Linked DNA regions of Homo sapiens: regions 2, 3 and 4 are each linked to region 1. The links are contacts of gene promoters, found by promoter capture Hi-C in blood cells and fetal thymus (Javierre and others, 2016). All regions are on one chromosome and are shown on one strand. Each heading gives the region's core, a stretch centred on a gene start or on the middle of the fragment in contact. The rest is flanking DNA. Distances are from core to core; before and after follow the strand shown.

Evidence for each region. The method cuts DNA at HindIII sites, captures the fragments that hold promoters and counts their contacts. A CHiCAGO score of 5 or more calls a contact.
Region 2: a contact is called between a fragment that was not itself captured here and the fragment with the promoter of MORC4 in region 1, in 1 of 17 cell types (total B cells). The highest score is 6.7, in total B cells.
Region 3: a contact is called between a fragment that was not itself captured here and the fragment with the promoter of MORC4 in region 1, in 1 of 17 cell types (M2 macrophages). The highest score is 5.6, in M2 macrophages.
Region 4: a fragment that was not itself captured here is called in contact with the fragment with the promoter of MORC4 in region 1 in 1 of 17 cell types (M2 macrophages); the score reaches 5.3 in M2 macrophages.

Annotation. Positions count from the first base shown.
Region 1 is chrX:106,998,632-107,001,687 of GRCh38, forward strand. It overlaps MORC4 (MORC family CW-type zinc finger 4), which reads right to left and starts at 1,581. Exons shown (of 17, transcript NM_024657.5): 1 at 1,237-1,581; 2 at 1,046-1,118. The coding sequence starts at 1,338. RefSeq lists silencers at 1,346-1,555, 1,566-1,645. The HindIII fragment of the contact is 4,977 bases long and covers 1-3,056 here.
Region 2 is chrX:107,456,388-107,459,364 of GRCh38, forward strand. The region is part of intron 1 of FRMPD3 (FERM and PDZ domain containing 3); the gene reads left to right. Among named protein-coding and RNA genes, the nearest start is that of FRMPD3, 8.2 kb to the left of the region's middle. The HindIII fragment of the contact is 9,275 bases long and covers 1-2,977 here.
Region 3 is chrX:107,318,660-107,321,772 of GRCh38, forward strand. No RefSeq gene overlaps it. Among named protein-coding and RNA genes, the nearest start is that of DNAAF6, 110 kb to the left of the region's middle. The HindIII fragment of the contact is 4,381 bases long and covers 1-3,113 here.
Region 4 is chrX:107,400,518-107,403,769 of GRCh38, forward strand. No RefSeq gene overlaps it. Among named protein-coding and RNA genes, the nearest start is that of FRMPD3, 48 kb to the right of the region's middle. The HindIII fragment of the contact is 3,214 bases long and covers 71-3,252 here.

The sequences.
Region 1 (3,056 bases), core at 331-2,830:
GTCCCTCTGCTCTAGGGTTCCAAACGTATCAATTCCACTTTTTGCCTTTCACCTTCTAATTAAATTACACATATTGTAAAGCATTCCGTGTTATGGTTAATCATCAAAGGTCTCTATCATTCTTATCACCCTTCCAAGTAAGTCCCCTGCTACCCATTGACTTCTTACCCAAGATAACTCTCATGGCATGGCCACAGCGACTGCTTAAGTAGAGACCGGGGTTCATTTGGGGAGCTTTGAAAACATTTTCAAGAGTTTGTTCTGTGCAACCTTGCCCATAAACACTTCTTCCTTCTTTCGATTTTCAAAGCATGTATAATGCGCCCTGTATGCTGCTGCGTTTTGTGCAGGACTGCGTTTCTTCTTTGCTTTCCACACAGTAGCACACTACTGCAAAAACTGGTGTAATTGGCTTGAAGGGATCAACTGAAAACACTTTAAAAGCAAACACCGGTGGAGCGAGAGGTTAAGTCCTCAATATTCATTCCAGCGGTGTGAGGGCGCTCGTGGACCACGGACCCAGCCCTCCGCAGTAGCAGGGAGCCAAATGCACTCGTGTCATCTCTTAAGAGATGTCCCATCATTCCTAACTTTTCTTGTCTCAAAAGTTAAGGAACTCCGCTTTCCAGACCTTTCCCCAGGACCCGCCTCGGTCCTCTACGCCCCTTTGCTAGCTAGGCATCCTCCGTCGGTCGCCAGCCCCTGCGGACCCAGCTGCCTCAGGGCCCGAGGTTTTTATGCATCTCCTTTTGATTACTAACTAAGCTATCCTAAAGTGCCCGAACGTCACGAGCGCGAGAGAAAAACCACACTGGTGTCTTTAACGCTTCAGACACACCTCGTTTCCTCCGTTTTATGAGCGGAACCTAGTTCCTGGCGAGAGAGCCATCCCCCTCCTCCGCCTGCGGAGCCGGGGCCGGTTCCGAGGCCCCCACCCCAGCCCCGGCCCGCCCCGCGCGGCTCTGCGCATTCCTCTCGCGTCCGCGGCACCACGCTGGCACCACTGCCTCGGGCGAACACGGCCGGGCCCGCCCTCGCCACTCACCTAGCAGCTCCGCGATGGCACTGAAGGGTCGCGTGTGGCTGCTGGAGTTGCTCTGGAGGTAGCGGGGGCTCATCTGGGGGCGAGAGAAGGTCCCGACCCGCGTGAGGCCTCGGCCCGCCGGGCCCTCCCCGCGCGCCCCCCGCAGCCCAGGGGCCCGCGCGCGCGTCCGCCCCCTCGGGCCCCGGACCTACCGTGCTCAGGCGGATCCCGAAGGCCTGCGGGCCGCCGCCGGGCCGGGCCAGCCCGCAGCCCGGCGCGCCAGGGCCGGCGGGGGCCCCTCGGTACAGGAGCATTTTTTTGGCCGCCACGGTACCCGTCTGCTGCCGCCGGACCCCTGGCCCGGCGGTCCGGGACTAGCCCTCGCTCACTTCCACTCGCAGCTGGCGGCGACCGTCCGGGACCGGCCCTCCCTCGCTCCCACTCGCAGCTGGCGGAGGCGGAGCGCGCTCCAGCCACCTGTCCCGGGCGGGAGGGGTGAGGCCGGCTGAGGCAAGCGGCGGCTCCGCCCTGTCAGCACCTCTACCGACCCGGCGACTGCCCGGGCTGCCTCTGGGCCGTACAGAAATATGGCGACCTCCTGACAGCCGCTCCTTGATCCCCGCCCCTAATTAATTATTGGCGTATGCCATAGGCCAGGCCGCCGAGCGGGAAAGCGCGGGGGGCGGGGGTGGCGCGTGGGGAGGGGCGTGAATGAAGCAAGAGGAGGGAGAGCATGTATGGGATTTCTGGAACCTAGTCCCGCTTAGGCTGCATGACTAACAGGCAAGATAAGACAAGTCTTTCAAGTTCTAAAGACTACAGTGTTGCTATCTGGGAAGATAGCAAGCTCGCCTGATGGGAAAACATTCTACCTACTCTGCCTCAAATGCCTCCAGAAGCACCCAGAACTTTCTGGAAGGCAATTAGCAAACTATCTCCAAAGTCTTGCTAGCATGCAGGGACGGTGTTTCTAAAAGGAGAAATTGGATTCACTTAAATACCGCCAAGTAGGGGATTGGTCGAGTTATGAAGTATGCATAAAATGAAATACCATCCAGTTCTTGAAGGCCATGTTTGTAGATAAGTATGTGTTGATGTAGAAAAATATTCATGAAGGAATGAAGAAAACAAGGAGTTACAACATATTGTGGAACGCATGATGCCTTTTCTATTGGAAAAACAAATATATATGTATACATATATACATATATATATATGCATGCATACACACATATACACATACATACATACATATATATATACACACACACACACACAACGAAAACCACTTGATATACACCAAGATGATATCTCTGGGTCTGGAACTAGACACTTTTTCCTTTTTTCTTACCTGTGTTTTCTAATATACTATAAATATACACTGATAATAGAAAAACAGATTCATTAAAAACATATGTAATGTTCTATGGCATGAATGAACTATAATTTATTTGACCATTCCTTTATGGTAATTTAGGTTGTCCTCTTTTTTTAATTTTGACAATACAAAAAATGCTCCTTCACACACTCGTGTACAGGTCATTAATTTCTGATACTGTTATCTCCACAGAATGAATTCCAAAAGATGAGACTGCTGCATCTAATAGCATGTGCATGGTTTAATCTTAATAAATACTGTAAGATAGGCAATTTGCCCTCCCAGCAACAATCAGTGCTCTTTTGTCATGTTCATAGCACTAGATGGTCCCAATCTTTTAACTTTTTGATAGTCTTTTCAATAAAAAATAGTATCTCCTTATTGTTTTAATTTGCATTTTCCTGACTACCAGTAAGGCTGAATATCTTTTCAAATGTTTAGTATACATTTGCATCTCCTCTTCTACAAATGCCTGTTTATGTCCTTTGAGCATCATTTTTTACCCCCATTGGGTGCTTTACATTTGTCTGTTTTTTAGTTATCTTTTCTTCAATTTTTTAAAATACACAAAAGTACAGAAAACAATATAATGAATCCCATGTACTTATTACTCAGATGCAGTAATTATCAAGACTGCCACACCTGCTGCAATGG
Region 2 (2,977 bases), core at 313-2,812, 460 kb after region 1:
AGTATAGTAACCCCCACATACTCATTATCCACATTAACTAGTTATCAGGACTTTGCCATGTTTGCTTCACCTATCATGCCAAACATCGATCACATCATTTTATTCCTAATATTTCTCTATGCATTTCTTAAAAACTGGACATTTTCTAACATAACTACAGAACTGCTAATACACCTAACAAAAGTAACAATAATGCCTTTGTATTATCCATTACCCTGTCCATAATCATATGCCCTCAATTGTCTCAAAACATGTTTTACAGTTGGCTTGTTTGACGGACGTTCCAAAAAAGTTCCACACGTGACATTTGGTTGTTATGTCTCTAAAGGCCCTTTCAACAGCCCTCTCTCTTTGACTTGTCACAGAAATCAGGTTGTTTGCTCTGCACAATTCCCACATTCTGGTTTGTCCTCTTATTGCCAGTTAGCTTGTTCACCTATCCCCTATATTTTCTATAAATGGAAGTTAGCTCTGGGCTTGATTAGATTCAAGCTCATTTTTCTTTTTTTCTCGCTTTGGCATAATGATTAAAACAAGATCATTCTGGAGGCAGGAAGACCAGTTAGCCGGTTGTTACCATAGCTGGTTGGGGACAGAAAGAAGATGGGTGAATGTATTTGGAGGTAGAGGAAACCTGATTTACCTACCAATTGAATGCGTGGGGTGAGGAAGAAGGAAGAGTCAAAGATGATTCTAAGGCTTTGAGCCTGCATAACCAGGAGGGTACCAATGTCATCCTATGAGAAGGATGAGTTTTTAATGAGAGCAGCAGGTATCATGGTTAGATTAAAGGAGGAACTTTCTCACTTTCTCACAGTAAGAGGCCATCTGCTCTGTTTTTTTTTTCCAGATAATACTATCTTTCCCAGAAAAAAATTTGATTCGTGGTATAGCTAAACATTTGATAATGTTTGGAAAACATTTGGAAAGGGACTCCGTATTTTTTGTTAACTGCAAATAGTTAAATTTCCAGCTCCAGGGCCTTGAGAGGGAGGATAGTATATACAATTCTGGATAGAGAGAAGGTAATGCTGATATCTCCCTTGCAGATGAGCCTACTGTCCCATATCATCATGGGTTTCTGAGTCATCAGGCTTGGGTAGGAGAGTGTAGGATGCCAGAACCTGGGATTTCTCTAGACACAGCCAATGAGCATAGCTCAAGATCCATGTCTTTCCTTGATATTGGCTGAAGTCTCTATCCCACACCCACTCTTCCACCCAATATGGAGGCTGTGTGGACCCTCAGTGGACCATGGCAACAGTGTTCTTGCCAAAGTCAAAAATTGCCTAAAAGCCCTGGGATATTCACTGGACTCTGACAAAGCCCCAAGATTATTTCGACACCTCAGTAGGAACTTGCTTAACTCGTTGAATTGGATTAGGTGAGAACTACTCTCAGCTCCATCCCATCATACCCTCCTTCATAAAGGCTTTTCTCTCTCTTCCTTCCCCTAGCTCATCTTTCTTCTTGCTTTTTCTTCTGCTCCCCCCTCCCTGCTCTTTCTCTTCCAGCGTACATTTATTCTCTCAAGTTAATCAAACACTGGCCCCTACAGCCCATTGTGCCTCAGATTGATCACTTAAGTAGCGTTATTGATTGCCCAGAAAACCTTAGGAGGTGGGAGTGTTCTGAAAGCTAGGATCTGACAGCTGATTGGCTGCCTATGTCTCACTCGGCAGCCTCAGCTCCTCTGCCGTCTGGAACATCTTTTGAGAAAGGTGAGGGAATGAACAGCGGAGATCCTTAGCGGGCTTCACTTATCTCATCCTTCCTTCATACTGGAGTTAAGGCATGGGAAGAGAAGTCTATTGACCACTCCAGGATCTAGCCCTGTACTAATGTTATGGTGAGAAGGGGAAAGCAAAGGCCCTGCTCTCTGGAAATCCGTAATTTAACAGAAAAATAATACTCATTCATATGAAGTAACTAAGAATAATACAAGATGGAAAACAATTATGTGCCACATTTTTTTGCTCTAAACAGTAAGCACTGTAGGGGTTCAAAGCACAGAGAGAATGAGAGTGTGGGCTGGAATGAGGGGAGAAGTCTTCCCAGAAGAAGTTGAACCTGCGTTATGTTTTGAGTAACATGTGAGATTGAGATTGTTGACTAGAAAAGGAACAGGCTTCTGAGGGGGAGGCACAGCATAGGGAAAAGGCTGGAGATGGAAATGGTCAGGGTGTTATCAAGAAAGGGTCAGAAAGAAGTCTGACTAGAGGAGAGGGTGTATATGCAGGCACAGTGGGGAAAAAATGATTGGCTGGGTATGGGACTCCCAGATTTGAAGAGTCTCTGATGTCAGAAGAAGTTTGGACTTGGGTAAACCTTGGGGGCTGTCGGACAATTATGCATAGTGATTCAGGATGGTTAGCTATGCAGTTGGAAGCAGAATTGATTGGAATAGGGAGAGACTTGAGACCAGCCTATAAGATACTACAGCAATCTAAGTGAGAGGTGATAAGGGTGGTGGCAGTGGGCATAGAGAGGAGGGTCAAATCCAAAAGGCTCTCAAGGCATCGGTGTGGCTGATAAACCACCAAGTAGATTTTCTTGACTTGTTTTTGTCTCACTCGCTCCTTCCTCTTAGCCTCAATACTTACACTTTCTTTGCCTCATGCCCTCAGGACCTTAAGGTGGCAGAGTTTCTGGAGCTAAGATAACATTGGGCATTATAATCAGTTATCCTTTCCAAGTAAAGTAGATGCGCACAGGGGCCTTCAGTACCATGACCTGAAAGAGTGAGCAATGAGGAATCTGGCTGCAGAATGCAGTTGAGATGATAGCCAAGCTGGGGTGCTGAGTATTACATCCCCCAACAGGGAGGCCGGAGGCAGGCGATGCCTGTGTCTGGTCTGTTTCAAGTCCCCCAAGGCTTCTGAGAGCTGGTAAGAGTGAGGAAACATCTTTCAACTTCCCTGGTAGAATCAGTTTGAAAACTCTTCTGAGCACTTGGGAATCATCTCAGTGAAGGTCA
Region 3 (3,113 bases), core at 508-3,007, 320 kb after region 1:
GGAGTGTGACAGGCAATATTCTGCAGACACAATAATTTTTCATTTCAATGATGCATCATAGTGTAATTTTTAGAAGACATTTTAAGTGACAATTAAGGAGAAAGCCAAATTTAAGTTAAAAATTTAACCATGATGGTTCTACCAATGCAAATAACTCAACTGAAGTGACAACATGATGTACAGATAACGTCTCAGTACAGCTAAGTCTGCATGCTTATAAGCAATGACAACAATATCACAGTAGATTCCTCTGCCTGGCCATTCGCAAGTCATTTTGACATCATTATAAGATGCATCCTGATCTCAGAAATGAAGAATATGTGTATTAGAATGCAGGAAATATGGTATAAAATACGTACACATATGGGTATATAGACACAGAAAAAAGACAAAAAGGAAATGCACCACAATGATTACAGCAGTTATCACTGAGTGGTGAAACTGCAGATTATATATATTTTTGCTTATCTTCAGCTTCTAAATGTCTGCAATAAGCTGGCCTTGCTGTTAAATTGTGAAAAACAATTATTTGTATTTTGAAAGCTCTTGCTCCCTATTGAGAGAAAAAGAGGTTGGAACAGAGCAAAACAAGGTTGAATCTGAGTCAACTCAATACTTGAAGGATCATAGTAATCTTTGGATCTTCCTGGCCCAAAAGAACAAATAGCCAAGTACTCGCAACTCAGATTACTTAAGGTGAGAAAACAAATCAGAAACTCTAAGGCTACATTTGTCACTCAAGTCCAGTGTCTGTTTTTTTAACATAATTTTGACAAGTCTCTCATCTTTCATATTTGTTTTCTCACCTGTAAGTGGGGAGAATTCCTTCTACTCTTCTTCTTCCTGGTAATGACAGGAATGGAATTTAAAACCATAAACAAAAATCATCGTCAAATACTTCACAGTCTTGATTCTGTCCCCACAAGCAATGTGAACATCTTAGAAGGATCTCATTAGATAATTTCATCAGAATGTGTGACTGTGTGTCTGTAGTGTGTGTGTGGGGGGGGGGGATGATAGGGAGATATTAGTGATCAGAGAGCCATTGGGCTGACAACCTGTTTTAGGGGCTTGAGGGAGATGCCAGGTCTTGAGTAATTTCTGTCACTGGGCACAGGCAAATGAATTCTATACTGGTAGCCCTTGGGGACATTATCCAGCTGAGAGAACTTAATTTCAGGTAATCAACATGGTCCTAGTTGCCTTCTACTTGTTGATGGGGAGAAGAGCCGGGGAAATTTGCTCTACCTTACACACTCCTGCTAAATCTTACTCTCAGGCCTGATTCCTAAAGCAAAGTGGGTGACAGGGAGATGAGGCTATGAATGGGGAGATTTGGCTAAAGGCAGCAGAGCTGCAGTGTAATGTGATGTGAAGTAGCAGAGCTCACAGCACTTCACCCAGTGTAGCCCACAGGAAATATGCATTGGAGAGTTGCAGTACCTTCATTCATTTAGTCTTTCCAACAGCAAGAGGTTGGGCACAGTGAGGTTTAGAGGGGCCTGGACTGCTAGGTTTATGTCTAGCACAGTATAAACAGCTGAAAAGCAGTAGCTGCTATTATTCTCACCAACATTATCATTATTTCCACCACAGAAAGGGCCTTCTGATCAATACCTCTTCCAGTCCCCTGTCTAGGCAGTATTTCCCATCACCCTCTTCCTTTCTTGTGCACTGTCCTACTCTGGGGAGCTTAAATCATTCCTTTGAGGTAAAACAGTGAAGACTCTATTACAGTTCAGGGGTTTTCTGGGAGATGAGCTGCCTTAAGCCTCTCATTCATCAGTAACTTTCCAGAGTGAGGAGACTGGGCAGCTGGGGTGGGGTCCTGAGAACTGTGTGACTCCAAAAGGAGGGGTTGAGAAATGAAGTCACTGGGGGTACTGAGCCTCACAAAGTTGCCTCAGATAAGACCAATCTGTAGTGTAGGTAGCAGGGTAGTGGAGGGGGACCCGAACCAAGACTGAAACTCAGGCTGGCTCACTGCCCAGGCCTATAGGGATCAGGAGTGGGAGAGAGAAAGGCAGTGTAAGTCAGGAGAAGCCTCTTTAGCCTCAAAGCCGAGAAGACCCCAACTTTTGGGAGGAAGAGTTGATCCAGACTGGTAGAAAGAATATATGCTTCCCTTTCCTGGGCTCTCCAGTATTGTGAGGGGAGGTCTAAGGAGGTGTGTGAGTGTATGACAAGATGGAGAAGGACGCTTATACTCACAAGCAGCAGGCTGGGCACTACTTTGGACAAGCCGACAGAACACAATAATTGATTGCCTTCTAGCTACAAAATCAAAATGGCTTTTGATGTTCAGCCATTCATTGCTGTAACTGGAATAATAACACAATTCATTTTAGCTGCAGCCCCGCAAATGGATGGCTTTAATAATGGTTAATTTGGGATGATGAATGTGCCATTTGGGGGTGACATTACTGCTGAATAAGAAGAGCACACAAGAGACAGAGGGAGGAAAGGAGGAGCTACATAAGACTAGCCATGTTTGCTAACTTCTGAGGCTGCCAGGCCTTCAATTCCACTCCACAAGTATTGATTTAGCAAGTACTTACTTCCTAGCTAGCACTGGGCTGAGGGTTGGAGAGACTCTCAAGAAATATATGATTAGGATAGCCATGTGTCCTGGCTTCCCAGGGACAGTCCTGGTTTGTGATGAGACCTGGGGCAATTATTATTAATAGCACCTCTTCTCACTCTCAAAAGTGTCTTGGTTTGAATGGTAAGTTATATTGTCATTCTGCATGGCTCACGCTCTGCTTTCCATGAGAACACAGCTTTTCTGGGGGAAGACAAGTCTTATTTATGCACATAGAGCCATTATAGCATATTAGGAGACAGTATGTAACCAAAAAATGAACCAAAAAAGCTCAAGCACCCAAATCAATGCTCATAATTTAAAAATTGGTGATGGTCATGGATTTAAATATCTTGAAGATAACATTCACATGCATGTAAATGAATCACCACAATATACTACTCACTTGATCTTTACGATAACCTCATCTTATAAATGAGCCACTAGACACCAAGAGAAAGGAGTCAATTGCTCAAGGTCACAGAGCTAGTAAGTGACAGAGTCCATATTTGAATCCAGAACCATTTTAACT
Region 4 (3,252 bases), core at 428-2,927, 400 kb after region 1:
TCTGCTCCATTGGTCTACTTGTCTATCCTTGTGTCAATACCATATTAACTTAATACTTGTAGCTAGATAAAGCTTGGTTTCTGGTATTACGTCTTGTTTTGTCCTTCAAATTTGCCTCAGTTATTCTTGGCCTTTTACATTTCCATATAAATTTTTGAGTTGGCTTGTCAATTTCCACAAATAAAAAAATTCCTGTTGGAATTTGGGATTGTCTTGAATCTATAGATCAAATCGGTAAGAATTGATGTCTTTACAATATTGAGATTTACAATTTACCTATTTATTTAGGTCTCATTTACTTCCTCTCAAAAAATGTTTTAGAACTTTCTGTTTAGAAGCCTTGTACACTTTTTCTGGTTTTGCTCTTAGATATTGGATGTTTTTCAATGCTATTTTGTTTTTGTTTTCTAGCTCGCTTTTAGGAATAAACCCATTTGAGAATACAGATATTTTTCATATTTTCTTCCCATAATGACAAATAGAAGAAAAACTGACAAAGGGGAGTTTTATAATTTTTAGATGAAGCAGGATGTGAATACAAAGAGAAAGATAACAGCATTCCAGACTGATGATAGTGAAACTGATTATGTAAGTGAAATTTCAGATTGTGAATCTTCTTCAGACGAAGATATCTTAGATGAATTTTTTCAAACTCAAGAATTGACGAGTGAAGAATGTTTATAAAGACAAAAAAGAATGACAAAACAAAAAAGACACAAAAAAGAATAACAGTTACTTAATAGGACTTTTTTTTTTTTAGATGGATTCTCGCTCTTGTCGCCCAGGCTGGAGTGCAAAGGTGCGATCTCAGCTCACTGCAACCTCTGCCTCCTGGGTTCAAGTGATTCTTCTGCCTCAGCCTCCAGAGTAGCTGGGATTACAGGTGCCCACCACCACACCTAGCTAATTTTTTGTATTTTTGGTAGAGACAGGGTTTCACCGTTTTAGCCAGGCTGGTCTCAAACTCTTGACCTCAGGTGATCCACCCACCTCGGCCTCCCAAAATGCTGGGATTATAGGTGTGAGCCACCACACCTGGCCAGAAGTACTTTTTATGCAGTATTTTGGACATGGAACTGAACCAACACTTTTTGCTAAAAGGCCATGTGACCACATTCTATGTTTTTATGATGTTTTTGTGACAAAATTTACTTGATACAAAGGCAAGAGGATCACTTGAGCCCAGGAGTTAAAGACCAGACTGGGCAACAAAGCAAGATCTTATCATTACAAAAAAAATTTTTTTTAATTACCTGGGTATAATGGCATGCACTTGTCATCCTAGCTACTTGTGAGGCTGAGGCAAGAGGATCGCTTGAACCCAAGAGTTTGAGGCTGCAGTGAGCTATGATCACACCACTGGACTCCAGCCTAGGCAACAGAGACCCCATCACCAAAAAAAATTTTTTTTAATTTTTAAAGAAAGAGAGTATACTTTCTCTGTTGAATTTTTGTAGTATCTTTGTCCAAAATAAGTTGAATATATATATATATATATATATATATATATATATATATACACCTAACATTTAGATATGTTGAAATTATATATTATATATATTTATTTGTACATATGCTATTTTGTTCCACAGATCTGCATGTGTATTCTTACATCAATACCACATTGCCTAGATTAGTAGAGTCTAATAGTAAGGCTTAAGGTAGTGGGGAGCTGCGGAGGAAGTGGGGATGGTTAATGAGTACAAAAAAAATTAGAAAGACTGAATAAGACCTACTATTTGATAGCACAACAGGGTGACTATAGTCAATAATAACTTAATTGTACATTTAAAAATAACTGAAAACATGTAATTGAATAGTTTGTGACTCAAAGGATAAATGCTTGATGGCATGGATCCCCCATTCTCCATAATGTGCTTATTTCACATTGCATGCCTGCATCAAAACATCTCATGTACCTCATAAATATATACACCTACTATATACCCATGAATATTAAAAATTTTAAAATAAAAACGTTAGAAATCAGGTAGTATAAATACCACGATTTCACTCTTTCTCAAAATCATTTTTGATATTTTAGGTTCTTTGAATTTTCATACAAATTTTAGAATCTTGTCAATTTCTACAAAAATATGCTAGGATTTTAATTGAGATTGCCTTGAATTTATAGGTCAATTTTCAGAAAACAGACAATGATAGGAGTACAATTAATTTTTATATATAGATCTTGTGGCCTGGAATCTTGATAAACTAACTTATTTTGCAGAGGAAGTAGCTTTTTTTGCAGAGGAAATGAAGGGAGAGACTATATACCGTTCTGTCAAGACATTTGGCTGTGGTAAGGAGTAGGAGAGAGAGTAGTTAGCCGAAGGGTAATGTCAATTTGAAAGTTTTTTATTATTTGGCTGGATGGTTTTCTTTTATTTTTATTTTTGCTCTATTGTATTAATGAGAGAGTTTTAAACAGGTTTAAAAGCTGAAGGACCCAAGAGAGAAGAAATACTTTAATATAGAACAGAGAAAATATGATCAAATCATCAATAATTTAAGGAGGGTATAGAATTTTTGTTCTGTAAAACACACCCTTCCTTACCAACACACATAAACATGGACTTCCCTACCCTTCATCCTTCCAATAGAGTCATGTTGCAATTATTATTTAAACTGATGTTTGTTGTTTACATTATTATGACTATGTCAATATCTATCACTGCTGAGTCAAGTTATACTACGATTATATTTCTTCTCTTCTACGTCTCTTTTCTCCCTAAAGTTAGTTTGTCCCTTTTAAAAAAGTGTTGATTTTTTATTTATCACCAATATTCCTTAAATTCCCCTTCCCCAAATACTTTTTCACATGATCAAAGGAATCTAGAATTCTGTCAGTTTCATATTTTTAATGGAGAATCTGTCCTACAGGCCTCAATTCTTTTGATCCACTCTGGACTGATTGCCCTCTAGGCTTGCTGCACAGCTACCATCTTAGTGCTTCCTTTCATTCCCCTGCTATATAATGGATTTCCTATTTCCTGGGTCCCAAACAGTCCTGCCTCTTGGAGCCTTTCCTCTAGTCACTTCCTAAGAAAGGATATATGGGAGGTAAGTTTTCTTAGATCTTACTTGTTTGAAAATGTATTTATTCTAAGCTAAATCTTGGTTAATAGCTTTGCTAGGTATAAAATTCTTATTTAAAAATAATTTTCTTTTAGAATTTTGAAAACATTTTTTCATTGTTTTCTAACTTCCAGTGTGCCTACTAGAAATTCTGATGCCATTCTGGCTCCCCAA